Regions from separate parts of the Homo sapiens genome. Here all the other regions are linked to region 2. The links are contacts of gene promoters, found by promoter capture Hi-C in blood cells and fetal thymus (Javierre and others, 2016). All regions are on one chromosome and are shown on one strand. Each heading gives the region's core, a stretch centred on a gene start or on the middle of the fragment in contact. The rest is flanking DNA. Distances are from core to core; before and after follow the strand shown. Region 1 holds the start of CITED1 (Cbp/p300 interacting transactivator with Glu/Asp rich carboxy-terminal domain 1). Region 2 holds the start of NAP1L2 (nucleosome assembly protein 1 like 2). Region 3 overlaps JPX (JPX transcript, XIST activator).

Evidence for each region. Contacts are between HindIII fragments. The CHiCAGO score rates a contact against its expected background, and 5 or more counts as called.
Region 1: a contact is called between the fragment with the promoter of CITED1 here and the fragment with the promoter of NAP1L2 in region 2, in 4 of 17 cell types (non-activated CD4 T cells, naive CD8 T cells, activated CD4 T cells and 1 more). The highest score is 7.8, in non-activated CD4 T cells.
Region 3: a contact is called between a fragment that was not itself captured here and the fragment with the promoter of NAP1L2 in region 2, in 1 of 17 cell types (naive CD4 T cells). The highest score is 5.2, in naive CD4 T cells.

Annotation. Positions count from the first base shown.
Region 1 is chrX:72,303,179-72,307,377 of GRCh38, reverse strand. It overlaps CITED1 (Cbp/p300 interacting transactivator with Glu/Asp rich carboxy-terminal domain 1), which reads left to right and starts at 1,464. Exons shown (of 3, transcript NM_001144887.2): 1 at 1,464-1,553. LOC105373250 (a long non-coding RNA gene) reads right to left here and starts at 1,276. Exons shown (of 3, transcript XR_938441.2): 1 at 1,158-1,276. RefSeq lists an enhancer at 409-458 and a silencer at 185-479. The HindIII fragment of the contact is 8,247 bases long and covers 1-4,199 here.
Region 2 is chrX:73,212,367-73,216,542 of GRCh38, reverse strand. NAP1L2 (nucleosome assembly protein 1 like 2) reads left to right here and starts at 1,692. Exons shown (of 1, transcript NM_021963.4): 1 at 1,692-4,176. The coding sequence starts at 2,051. The coding sequence ends at 3,433. The HindIII fragment of the contact is 1,643 bases long and covers 761-2,403 here.
Region 3 is chrX:73,977,566-73,981,830 of GRCh38, reverse strand. The region is part of intron 2 of JPX (JPX transcript, XIST activator); the gene reads right to left. Among named protein-coding and RNA genes, the nearest start is that of JPX, 35 kb to the right of the region's middle. RefSeq lists an enhancer at 3,682-4,241. The HindIII fragment of the contact is 1,950 bases long and covers 1,948-3,897 here.

The DNA.
Region 1 (4,199 bases), core at 215-2,714, 910 kb after region 2:
GGCTCCGGGCGAGGGCTGCCCATAGCCCGGACTCGCCAGCCCCACCCCGGGAGCCTTGGCCGGTCCACAGGGCTGCCGGACTCGCGTGGCCGCGTGGACTCCGTTCCCCAGCCGGCCCTTTGCTTTCACACGATCCGCGGTGACTGCACCAGCTCGAGCGCCTTTAAAGGGCCACAGACGCCAGCCGCTGCTATAAAAATGTGCCCGGCGGCAAAGCTGCAGAAGGGGCACCGCTGAGCTGCCGAGAGGAAGCTCGCTCTGCCCGGCTGCCCTCTTGTAGTCCGCCGGCGAGGGGCAGTTCTCGGTGAGGAGGAAGAGAGCAGCGGACGGCACAGCACCCGCGCGGGCCCTCCGTGAGTATCCAGTTCAGATTTTGCCACCAACTCGCCCACGAGCCAGGACATGTGCTAATAATGCCCTAAGCCGGTTATAAAGACGTGGAAATTGAGGGGAGAAAAAAAAAGGGAAAAAAAGGGTCTGTCCTTCCTGGGATTCCTAGCCGAGGCCAGTCTGCTGCCGTGTGCGTGTGCGTCAGGGCTCTCCGGGCGGCAATGGGGGCTTGAGAGCCGGGTCCCCAGCGCCGGGAAGGGAGCGCGGTGGCCGCCACCGCCACCGCCCCGGAGTCCGGCGCCGAAGCTGCGGGCGGGCGGGCGGGCACCAGCTCGGTCAGGGGCTGCTTGGCGCGGCACTGTGCGGTGCAGCGGCGGCGCGGCGCGGTGCGGGCTTTTCCCAGGCGCCCCGGGGTCGGGTGGCCAACGGCGCGGCCGCGGGCGCTGAGCGCGACCGGTTCGCGGTAGCGGTGGCGGCGGCGTGCGTGCCAGGGGCTGGGGGCTCCGCCGCCTCTCTTGCGGCTCACCGAGCTCCGCGCTTCCCTCTCTCCAGGGCAGGCGGCTTCTCAGAGGTAAGCCGGGCCGCCGGGCTGGGCGCCGGGCTGGGCGGCGGGGCCGAGGACTCCCGTGGAGCGGGTATGGGGAGTGGGCGGCCGCCAGGCGGGCCGGAGGGTTCTGGGGAGACTTGCTTTCTGTTGGAAAGCTGCTCTGCTGGGGGCGAGGGGCCGCCCGCCCGCCCGCCCGCCAGCGCTCGGGTTCGCTTGCCAGCGCGCCCCCCTGCCGGCCAGCGGGGCCGGGTGCCCGCTTCTCCCGGGGAGACGGCAGCACCTTTTCTCCCTGCGCCCGCGCTTTCTCCAGCTTGGCTTCCACCGACTTTGCTAATCTCCCGGACCGCATCTGGACGCTCTGGCTCCGGAGCTGCACAAAGCTCAGATTTACTTCGGGGAATTGAGGCAAGAGGGGGCTTTTCGGGCCGAGTTCAGCGGAATTGCGGGATGGAAGTTAGCGAATTTGGGCAACTTGCCTCTACTGCCCAGTCGACCTCAGCCCTCCCCTCCCCCGACACACGCCCACACACACACACCCACGCGCACACCCCTCTCCCTATAAACGCGGGCTGGCGAGCCGCGCGCCGAGTCCCTGCTTCGCAGAGCACCGGACTTGGAGTCAGAGAGACCTGGCTGCGAATCCCGGCTCCGCCACTTTCTAGCGCTGTGACCTTGGGCAAGTTACCGCACCTCTCCGAGCCTCTCTCACTCTTCTCCTAGCGGGGTTTTAGCACTGACCGCAGGCGGCTTGGCTAGGGGGTAGGCTCAGCCTGCTGCCGCGTCGGATGCTCAGCGGGCGCTCAGTAAGTGTTGATCAGGCGCGAGAGTGGCAGCAGCCGGCGCCGGAGTGCGGACTCGCCGCGGAGGCCGACACCCCGTGCCCCTTCCTGCCTGTCCATCCTGTCTCTAAGATCAGTTCCTGATACAGCACTTGCGGGAACGGACGCTCAGGGCCCCGGTGGCCTGGGTGCACGCGCCCGCCGTGCAAGGGATGCTCCCGGCCGCCCCCGGTTCCGCGGCTCCATCTGGGATGCGGCGAGGAGGGCAGCCGAGCTGTCCGCAAACAACGGGCCTTTAGTTTTCAGGTGGCGAAACTGACTGGTCTGGTTAGAGCGCGTCCAAGCCAAGCCGCAGTGCTGTTTGGATTTTTAAATTTCTCCTTCTGAGTGAGAAAATAGCAATCGAGATGGAACCATCCGGTTGGTGCCATTTTAACTTTTGGTCCCCCAACAGGTTAAAGATGAGGCCCCCACCTGCCTCTCCCTTCTCTTTTCCCTCTCCCCTTCCCACCCCTGTCTAGGCGGGAGGGGGCTGCTCGCCCAAGGGAAGGCCTGAAGCGAAGAGCGGGCAGCGGGACTGGGAACTGGTGGCCGGGGGGCCGCCAGGCATCAGCCGGCGAGAAGGCACTTGTTGCTCTAGGTTTCCCAGCCGCCTGTCGCAGCCGTTTCGCAGTGGTCAGCTCGCGGCTTGGAGAGCGGGCTGGGACGTTTCCGCGTTGCCAAGTTTTGCCCACGAACGGGCTAGAGGGTGGTGGAGGAGGGCAGAAAGCCGGGGAAGCAGAGCCAGGGATGCCGATGGAAATGCGATTGCTTCTTCAGACGCATTCAACAACACTTACTGAGCGCCTATTGAGCGCAGACCCAGGCTGGGGTCAGGGTGGGTGGTGGGTCAGTAATGGAAGGCAGAAGATCTGAATGGACACAGGGCCTCTTCTGGGGGAGCTCCCAGATTGAAGAGGGAGGCGCGGTAAAATGGTCTTCCCCCACGAACTGATATCAGAATAGAGAGAGTTTTTTTGCTCGTTCTCTCTTTTGATTTTTCTAATGTTTCTCTTTTGGTTTTGCTGTTGTTGCTGCTGCTCCTGTTGTTTTTTCTTCGTTTTGTACATTCGGGTACCAAGCGGCAAAAAGGAGAGGGAAGGCTGGATAGGAACAGGAAAAGATGGACAGGGCCCCCAGACATTTTTCTTAGGACAGGAAAATTGTCTGATACTGATTGTGCTAGGGCTCTTGAAGACGACATGTGTTAGACTTCTTGTCTGGTGATCACTTGCTTTTGAAATATTTTTCTACGGTTGCCTCAGAGAAGGAGCAGGGCTTCAATCAAGCAATGATGCGGGACCCAACAGCTGATATTTTTTCCTCATGTTTTTAAAAAAATGTTTACCCCTTTCTCTATTTTTTCCCTCCCCTACCCCCATCCACCCAAGTAAGCAATGCAAAGATGATACAGAGAGGTAGTAAGTGGCCACTTTCTAGAAGTGTCTGAGCAGATTCTTAATGACCGCTGCGGAGTGGAGAGTGTCACGGAGAATTCTAGCCTCCTTGGAAAGATTAGAGACTCTTTTTAAGGTCCTCAAGATTCTTTGGACCAAGAGGTATTTATAAATATGAAATTCTACATCTCTAATTGATCATGAAAGCTAGAATATATGGGGCTTTTTTTTTTTAAAGAGATAGGGTCCCGCTATGTTGCCCAGCCTGGTATCAAACTCCAGGGCTCAGGTGATCCTCCCACCTCAGCTTCCTGAGTAGCTGAGACTACAGGAGGGTGCTACTGTGCCTAGCTATGGGACATTTTTTTCTTCTTTGTAAACAGGCCTCCAGGAAAATAAGTTGAGATTTTCAGAGGTTTGTTTATTTTCTGGTTTGGAGGTATTCTTTTGCCTTCATTCCCTTATCCTTTGGCACTTGAGCCAGGAAATCACTTCTTTGGAAGCCTTTTGAATCCAGCTAGGTATGATGACTTAGCCAGTGGTCAGGTGAGGCATGTGGCCATAGGGGTGCTAGATTCTGCTCCCAGAACCGCTGCTACCTGACTAAAAAGGCATTGAATCTCTGTGCCTCACTTGTCACTATAGATGGGAATGGCTGGACTCAGGTTTCTGGGGTAGGCATCCTAGGAAAGCCCAATGCTGGGGCTGTCTTGGAGGGGGCTTGAGACATGGAGGAAAGTGACACATTCCTAGCTTCTCTGGCTCCAGCTGCCTCAGAGCCCCCAGACCACCCTAATCAGCCTGGCTTCTCACAGGCATGCCCAAGGTCATGCTTTGGAGCTCCATGACATTTGCGCTAGAGACTTGTTATTTCCCTGTGCTGCAGCCTCTAGCTTTCTAGGTCTTCCTTGCCCTGACTTCTTCTCACATTCTCCCAGTCCCAGTGGAGGCCCCAACTCTCCAGCCTGGATGCTAGTAGCCCATTGAGACAATATGTTGCTTACTCAGGGACATTCCTGTCCTCTGAACCAGGAACAGTGCCACCCTCACCCCCACACATACACCTTGGGACTGTGAAGTCACTTGCATGAGGAAGCAGTATGTCCC
Region 2 (4,176 bases), core at 443-2,942:
GTGTTGATTTTGCTTCATGCAAACTTACTTAATTTGTTAGTTCTAACAGTTTTTTTGTGGAGTCTTTAGGTTTTTCTAAATATAAGATCATGTCTTCTTTGAACAAGGATATAAATTAGCAACTTCCTTTCCAATATGTATGTCCTTTATTTTTTTCTCTTGCAAAATTGCTCTGGGTAGGACTTCCAGTACTATATTGAATATGGTCTTTAAAATATTTTTCTCTACACTTTATATTATGATAAAATATACATAACATAATATTTACCATTTTACCTATTTTTAAATCTACATTTCAGGAGCATTAAGTACAATCACACTGCTGTGAACCATCATCACCATACATCTCCAGAATATTTTCTTTTTCTTGAACTGAAACTCCATACACATTGAACAATAACTTCCTTTCCTCCCTACCCCAAGCCTCTGAAAACCATGTTTCTACTTTCTGTCTCTGTGAATTTGACTGCTCTAGATACCTAATTAAAGTAGAATCATACAATATTTGTTCTTTTGTATCTGGTATTTTCACTTAAAGGAAAAATTTATCTATAAACTGACAGAATTTAGAAATAAATACAACAATATGTAAACAGTTTTAATATCTGTGATAGTAACAAATTCTTTAAATCTGGAAAATAATAGTCACTTAAAATTTTAAAAAATTGTTCAATTAATAAATGATCCAAGTTAGAAATATGAACAAAATAAACCTCACCAATAATTACTATAGAGAGGAAATTTTAATTACTGCAAAGCTTTCCATCCTATAAATACATTATCAAATAGTTTAACCATTTCTTTAATGCTGAGATTTAGATTATTTCCAATTAACTCAAAAGCATCAAGCAAATGTTATGATTTCTAAGAATAAACATAACTTTCCATTTTGGCTTTTGTATATATGTATATTTCTAACGGCTGTTAAAGCCAGCATTAAGAAGGAGAAGCAGAAAGTCAGTATTGGGACTGGGGTTATTTATAAGCCAGGCAACTGGTTAATTGTGGTTAATTGTCTGGTATGTTTACTAGTCACGTAGTTGTATACACCATACTAGTTTTTCATCACAGGCCCTCATTCGCCCCCACTGCCATCGGACTTCCTCCTCCTCCCCTCACAGGAAATGTTTCGAGAATTTTTCAACCTAAAATCATATAGCTTGTGAAAAATACCGACAAACATAATATAGAATATTTAAATAACTGACACGCCACCTAAAGACCATCAGTGCTAATTCCTGGTGTTTTTAATCTTTGAAGCGTTTGTTTATCAGCTCTTCCACCATCCACCTCTCCCCTCCCCAGGTCCCCGATCTAAAATCAAAGAGATTGATTTAGGATGGGTGGGTGCCTTGTCTTCTCTCATTGTTCGACATTTTAGTTACGTTTTCTCTGAGCTCTCTGGAAAGCATAAAAGTATAATATCTGTTAAAAGTTGGATGAATGAACTAATGAACGCAATGGGATTCCAGAAAACTCTGCGGGAGATGGGCTAGAGGACGAGGAGGAGGTGGATGAATCAGCCATGTTAGAGAGCCTGGGAAGGTGAGCAGAGTTGAAAACTTGATAGATCTAATAATTTACTGGCTCTGGGTTTGTCAGTCACTACATTGCAGCAAATGAGATTAGAGCATAGTTGTGGGAGGGAAGGAGGTGACGCAGCAATCTATTTGCACCTAGAAATTTTAGGCAAGTGATAGCTGCGTAATCATACTGCGGCACCGTTTTTTTCTTGCAGCAGTAGCTGCTTGCGGAGGAGGTCTGCCCACTGCAGCTCTCTGCAGTCTCCGGCTCTCTCCTGCAGGATCGGTCAACGCAGCCGTCGCCGCCCTCTGCACCCAGCCCAGGTCGCCACTGCTTCAGTCCGGTTCTCAAAGCCTCAGCACCATCTTTTATCCCCGAGCAGCCTGGATCGTCGTTCCCTCAGTCCGGACGCCACTGCTAGGTCCGACCACCGCCGCTTCTGATATTTCGGTGAGTCTTTTCCTGTGGAGGTTTGGTCTCCCGATCTCTGTGGTAGCCACCTTAGGCGTGTACGGTCCTTTGAAAAATGGCCGAGTCAGAGAACCGCAAGGAGCTGTCAGAATCCAGTCAAGAAGAGGCTGGTAATCAGATAATGGTGGAAGGGCTCGGGGAACATCTGGAGCGCGGTGAAGATGCCGCTGCTGGGCTTGGAGACGATGGGAAGTGCGGTGAAGAAGCTGCCGCTGGGCTTGGGGAAGAAGGGGAAAACGGTGAAGATACTGCTGCTGGGTCCGGGGAAGATGGGAAAAAAGGTGGCGATACTGATGAGGACTCAGAGGCAGACCGTCCAAAAGGACTTATCGGTTATGTTTTAGATACAGACTTTGTTGAAAGTCTACCTGTGAAAGTTAAGTACCGTGTGTTAGCCCTTAAAAAGCTTCAAACTAGAGCGGCCAATTTAGAATCCAAATTCCTGAGGGAATTTCATGACATTGAAAGAAAGTTTGCTGAAATGTACCAACCCTTACTGGAAAAAAGACGTCAGATCATCAATGCAATCTATGAACCTACAGAAGAGGAATGTGAATATAAATCAGACTCTGAGGACTGTGATGATGAGGAAATGTGTCATGAAGAGATGTATGGTAATGAGGAGGGTATGGTACATGAATATGTGGATGAGGACGATGGTTATGAGGACTATTATTATGATTATGCTGTGGAAGAGGAGGAGGAGGAGGAGGAGGAGGACGACATTGAGGCTACTGGAGAAGAGAATAAAGAAGAGGAGGATCCTAAGGGAATTCCTGATTTTTGGCTAACTGTTTTAAAAAACGTTGATACACTCACTCCTTTGATTAAGAAATATGATGAGCCTATTCTGAAGCTCCTGACAGATATTAAAGTTAAGCTTTCAGATCCTGGCGAGCCCCTCAGTTTCACACTAGAATTTCACTTCAAACCCAATGAATATTTCAAAAATGAGTTGTTGACAAAGACCTATGTGCTGAAGTCAAAGCTAGCATATTATGATCCCCATCCCTATAGGGGAACTGCGATTGAGTATTCCACAGGCTGTGAGATAGATTGGAATGAAGGAAAGAATGTCACTTTGAAAACCATCAAGAAGAAACAGAAACATCGGATCTGGGGAACAATCCGAACTGTAACTGAAGATTTTCCCAAGGATTCATTTTTCAATTTTTTCTCTCCTCATGGAATCACCTCAAATGGAAGGGATGGAAATGATGATTTTTTACTTGGTCACAATTTACGTACTTACATAATTCCAAGATCAGTATTATTTTTCTCAGGTGATGCACTGGAATCTCAGCAGGAGGGGGTAGTTAGAGAAGTTAATGATGCAATTTATGACAAAATTATTTATGATAATTGGATGGCTGCAATTGAGGAAGTTAAAGCTTGTTGCAAAAACCTTGAGGCATTAGTAGAAGACATTGATCGTTAGAGCAGAGTATACATGGCCCTGAAATTAACTGCCCTAGATATAGTTACTCAAGGTATAAGAAGCCTTGTGTTCTGTATTTTTCTTGTAGTGTTAGTTAAAACATATGTTTCAAAAATATAAGAAAAGTTCAAAAACTAATTAATTTGACCTTGAGTTTTAGTAGTAGAATGTTTTCAAGAAATGTACACTGTGGTAAATGATTTAAAACACTAGTATAGTGTTGTGTAGCTTAATCCTTCTGAAGTCTTTTTGTCATGTAGCTATTAATCTGTGGCTATGAAATGATCAGAAATGCTAAGTGAGATCAATATTTGTTTGGAAAAAAAATCTTGGGAAACAACCCAAGGGTTTTCGCTGTTGTTGTTTTTCTTTTTCTATTTTTGTTTACTTAGTCCTTTAGCTAGTGGATTTAATTTTGTTGTGCCTGCTTCATTTTGCAATAACAATGCAGTAGAATTTAAAACTTGGATGCTTAAGAGGCCTGCATATAGATAAGAATTTCAGGCAAAACTACATTTATTGTTAATAACAGCTTGTTCATAGGCTCTTGTATTTTATGTAACTGTGATAAATAATGAAACTTAGTTATATTGAGGTTATTGTTTGTCGGTGAAGTGTTAGTCACAGTATTTTCAAAAGTTTGCACATATTGTTCTGTGTAATTGTGTAAGCCATAATTACAGTGTTTAATTCTCTTTTCCTATTACATCATTCATTGAAAGTGATCACTTTACCATTTTGAA
Region 3 (4,265 bases), core at 1,673-4,172, 760 kb before region 2:
GACTGAGAAAAAATATGTAAATCATATTTCTGATAAAACACTTGAGTACAAAATACATATAAAGAACTCTTACAATGCAATAAGAAAATAACTTTAAATGGAGAAAAGATTTAAATAGATATTTCATCAAAGACATACAAATGACCAATAAGCAAATGAAAAGATGCTCAATCTCATACAGTTTAAGAAAATGCAAAACAAAATCATAATGAGATACTACTTCACACCAATTAGAATGGCTATAATCAGGTAATAACAAGTGATGATGTGGAGAAATGTTAACTCATACATTGCTGGTGAAAATGTAAAATAGTATATCCACATTGGAAATCAGTTTGGTAGTTTCTTTAAAAGCTGAATAAATATTTGCTGTACAACCCAGCTATTCTATTCCAAAGAATCTACAGAATAGAAAAGAAAATATACTAGGACATTTACATTAATGTTCACAGCAATGTTTATTCATCATAATAGCCCCCCCCCACCACCAAAAAAAGGAAACAATCCAACTTTCAGTCAAGTGCTGCATGGAGAAACAAAATGTGACATTAGTAAAACTGAACAACATTCAGCTCTAAAAAGGAATGAAATACTTATTAATGCTACCACATGACTAAATCTCAGAAACATTTTAATAAATGAAGGAGGTCAGATTCAACGGAATAAATATCGTACGATTTCATTTACATGAAATGTCTAGAAAGGGTAAACTTACAGACAGAGGATATCACGGTAGCCTGGGATGGGAGCAGAAGTGACTTGAGGAAACTTTTGGAAATAATGAAATGTTCTAAACTGGATTATGATGACAACTTCAAGCCATAAGTTTACTAAAACTAGGTGAATTGTATACTTACAATAGATAATTTTATGGTATGATATTATACCTTAATAACACTTAAAGAACCAAATTGAGTTTTTTTAATGAAAACATACAACATTCACAATAAAAAATATCCACTGAAGATCTCAATAACAGAATGCAGCCAGGAACATGAAACAGAATTTGAAGACAGATCAACAGAAATTACCCAATCTGAAAAATAGAATTAAAAAATAGATTGAGCCAGGCGCGGTGGCTCAAGCCTGTAATCCCAGCACTTTGGGAGGCTGAGGCGGGCGGATCACGAGGTCAGGAGATCAAGACCATCCTGGCTAACATGGTGAAACCCCGTCTCTACTAAAAATACAAAAAAATTAGCTGGGCATGGTGGCAGGTGCCTGTACTCCCAGCTACTTGGGAGGCTGAGGCAGGAGAATGGCGTGAACCCGAGAGGCGGAGCTTGCAGTAAGCTGAGATCATGCCACTGCACTCCAGCCTGGGCGACAGAGCAAGACTCCGTCTCAAAAAAAATAATAAAATAAATAAATAAATAAAAAATAGATTGAAACAGAACAAACAGCACCTCAGGACCTATGGAACAATATCACAATATCTAATATACATGTCATCATAGTCTCAGAATGAGAAAAAAAAATCATGCAGAAAAAAAGTTTGTAGAAATAACAGCCAAAAACTTCCCAATCTGATAAAAGATAAATCTACATATTAAACAACTTCAGCAAAACCAAACAATATAAACTGAAAAGACACACCCAGAAATACTATAAACTGTTGAAAATCAAAGACAAAGGAAAAAATTTGAAAGCAGCTATTAAAAAAACAGCACATTACATCTGAGGAAGCAATGATTCAAACGACGGCAAATTTTTTATCAGAAACGATGAAGGACAGTAGTAGAAAAATAACTTTAAAGAGCAACAAGAAAAAAATCCCATCAATTAACAATTCTATATCCAGTGATTGAAAATGTCTTTCAGGAATGAAGGTGAAATGAACACATTCCTAGATGAAGGGAAATTAAGACAATTCACCTCAAGCAGAGTGCTGATTAAATGATAAAGGGAGTTCTTTAGTCTGAAGGGAAATGATACCCAGGGAAAGCTTAGATCTTTAAAAATGAGAGAACAAAGAACTGGTTTAAAAAAAAAAAAAAGAAGTGGTAAATTACTGAGTAAATATAAAAGACTATTTTTCTCCTCTTAAGTTCTTTAAAATATGTATGACTCCTGAAAGCAGAAACACAATGCAAATGTAAAACACATGGCAACTACTTAAAGAATCAGTGAGGGAGTATAAAGAGCTTTATATGGATGTAAGGCTTCTATGTTTTACCTGAAGTGGTAAAACACTGAATCTACATAAACTGTTAGATATGTATTTATGAGACAATTCGAATGTATAAAAGATAATTAAGACCGGGCACGGTGGCTCATGCCTATAATCCCAGCACTTTGGGAGGCCGAGGCAGGCAGATTACCTGAGGTCAGGAGTTCGAGACTACCCTGGCCAACATAGCAAAACCCTGCCTCTACTGAAAATACAAAAATTAGCTGGGCGTGATGGCATGCACCTGTAGTTAGTCTCAGCTACTCATGAGCCTGAGGCAGAAGAAGTGCTTGAACCCAGGAGGCGGGGGTTGCAGTGAGCTGAGATTGTGCCATTTGCACTCCAGCCTGAGCAACAGAGCGAGACTCTGTCTCAAAATAAATAAATAAATAAAGATAATTAAAATGGAATATTAAAGCCTGGGCGCGGTGGCTCACGCCTGTAATCCCAGCACTTTGGGAGGCCAAGGCAGGTGGATCACCTGAGGTCAGGAGTTCAAAACAAGCCTGACCAACATGGTGAAACCCCGTCTCTACTGAACATAAAAATAATGAGCCAGGCATAGTGGCGGGCACCTGTAACCCCAGCTACTTGGGAGTCTGAGGCAGGAGAATCGCTTGAACCCGGGAGGCGGAGGTTGCAGTGAGCTGGGATCACACCACTGCATTCCAGCCTGGGCGACAAGAGCGAAACTCCATCTCAAAAAAAAATAAATAAATAAAATAAAATACTAAAAAATGTTCAAATGATACAGAAGAAAAAATAAGAAACAGAAATAAACAAAAATAACAAAGACAACAAATCTCAAATATATAGGGCACTAGAAACAACATCACTACCTCACTTAGAAAAGGCTTGACAAAAGCAAAGTTATGATTTTCTTGACCCTATCAGAGAACTGAAGTTACAGGAAAAAAAAAAATACAGAAATCTAAAAAAATGGTAGGTGCCTGCAGGGGAAAACAGAATCTGAGCATTTGATTACTGGGACAAATGCCATGAAAATCAATATAAAAGCAGGTAGAAAGATTTAACTAGAAATTACAATAAATTGCTAAAGGCCAAGTGTGGGCTGGCCTGAGAATAGGAATCCCCTCAGGTTTCAAATATGGGGGTGGGGTTGCAGCCACCTGCAGCTGTTATCAATAGGAAGCCACAGGAAAGATCAGAGATCACAGAGAAAGACCCCTTTGGTACTATCTGGGGGAAAGGAGTAGCAGCTATGGCTGAAAATCTGCCCCAATCTACCTTTCTTAAAAAAAAAAAAAGTTTCGCTCTTGTTGCCCAGGCTGGAGTGCAATGGCGCGATCTCGGCTCACCGCAACCTCCACCTCCCGGGTTCAAGTGACTCTCCTGCCTCAGCCTTCTGAGTAGCTGGGATTACAGGCATGCACCACCACACCCAGCTAATTTTGTATTTTAAGTAGAGACAGGGTTTCTCCATGTTGGTCAGGCTGGTCTCAAACTCCTGACCTCAGGTGATCCGCCCGCCTCGGCCTCCCAAAGTGATGGGATTACAGGCGTGAACCACCACGCCCCACCAAAAAAAGTTCTTCATTTACAGAAAAGATCATGAAGCAGTGGAAGGGAATATAAAGCAGACCAAAATTCCCCAGAGGCCCGTCTCCTATCTCGCCTAAGAAGCAAAAACCTTAGAGCAATTTGCAGGGACACCCTGGAGTGGAAGCAACAGGGGCTGGGTAAGGAGGTAAGGAACACATAAAGCTTTAGCCATAGGGGAGGAATGGGAATAAATACTAGGCATTGACTGGAAAAGAAAGACTTATGACAGCCACACCCACAAGACCCAGATTCACAGTGCCTACTTAAGACTGAGTTTAAATTAGAACATTAGAGAACATGCCTCTTTTTCGCCCCAACCACAGACTAAACATCAAATAAAATTAAAGTAATGCACAGGGGAAAGCTGAAAACCACAGGCCTTCTCTAGAGAAGAGTGAAAAGGTGAAAACCCACGCCAAACAAGGACACAAAAACAAGGTATCATTATAGGGTTTGAAGTTTCTGATACACAGAGAGTAACCATGGTAACAACAAAACTTCAATCCCAGACCAACTCCTGACTAATTTCACA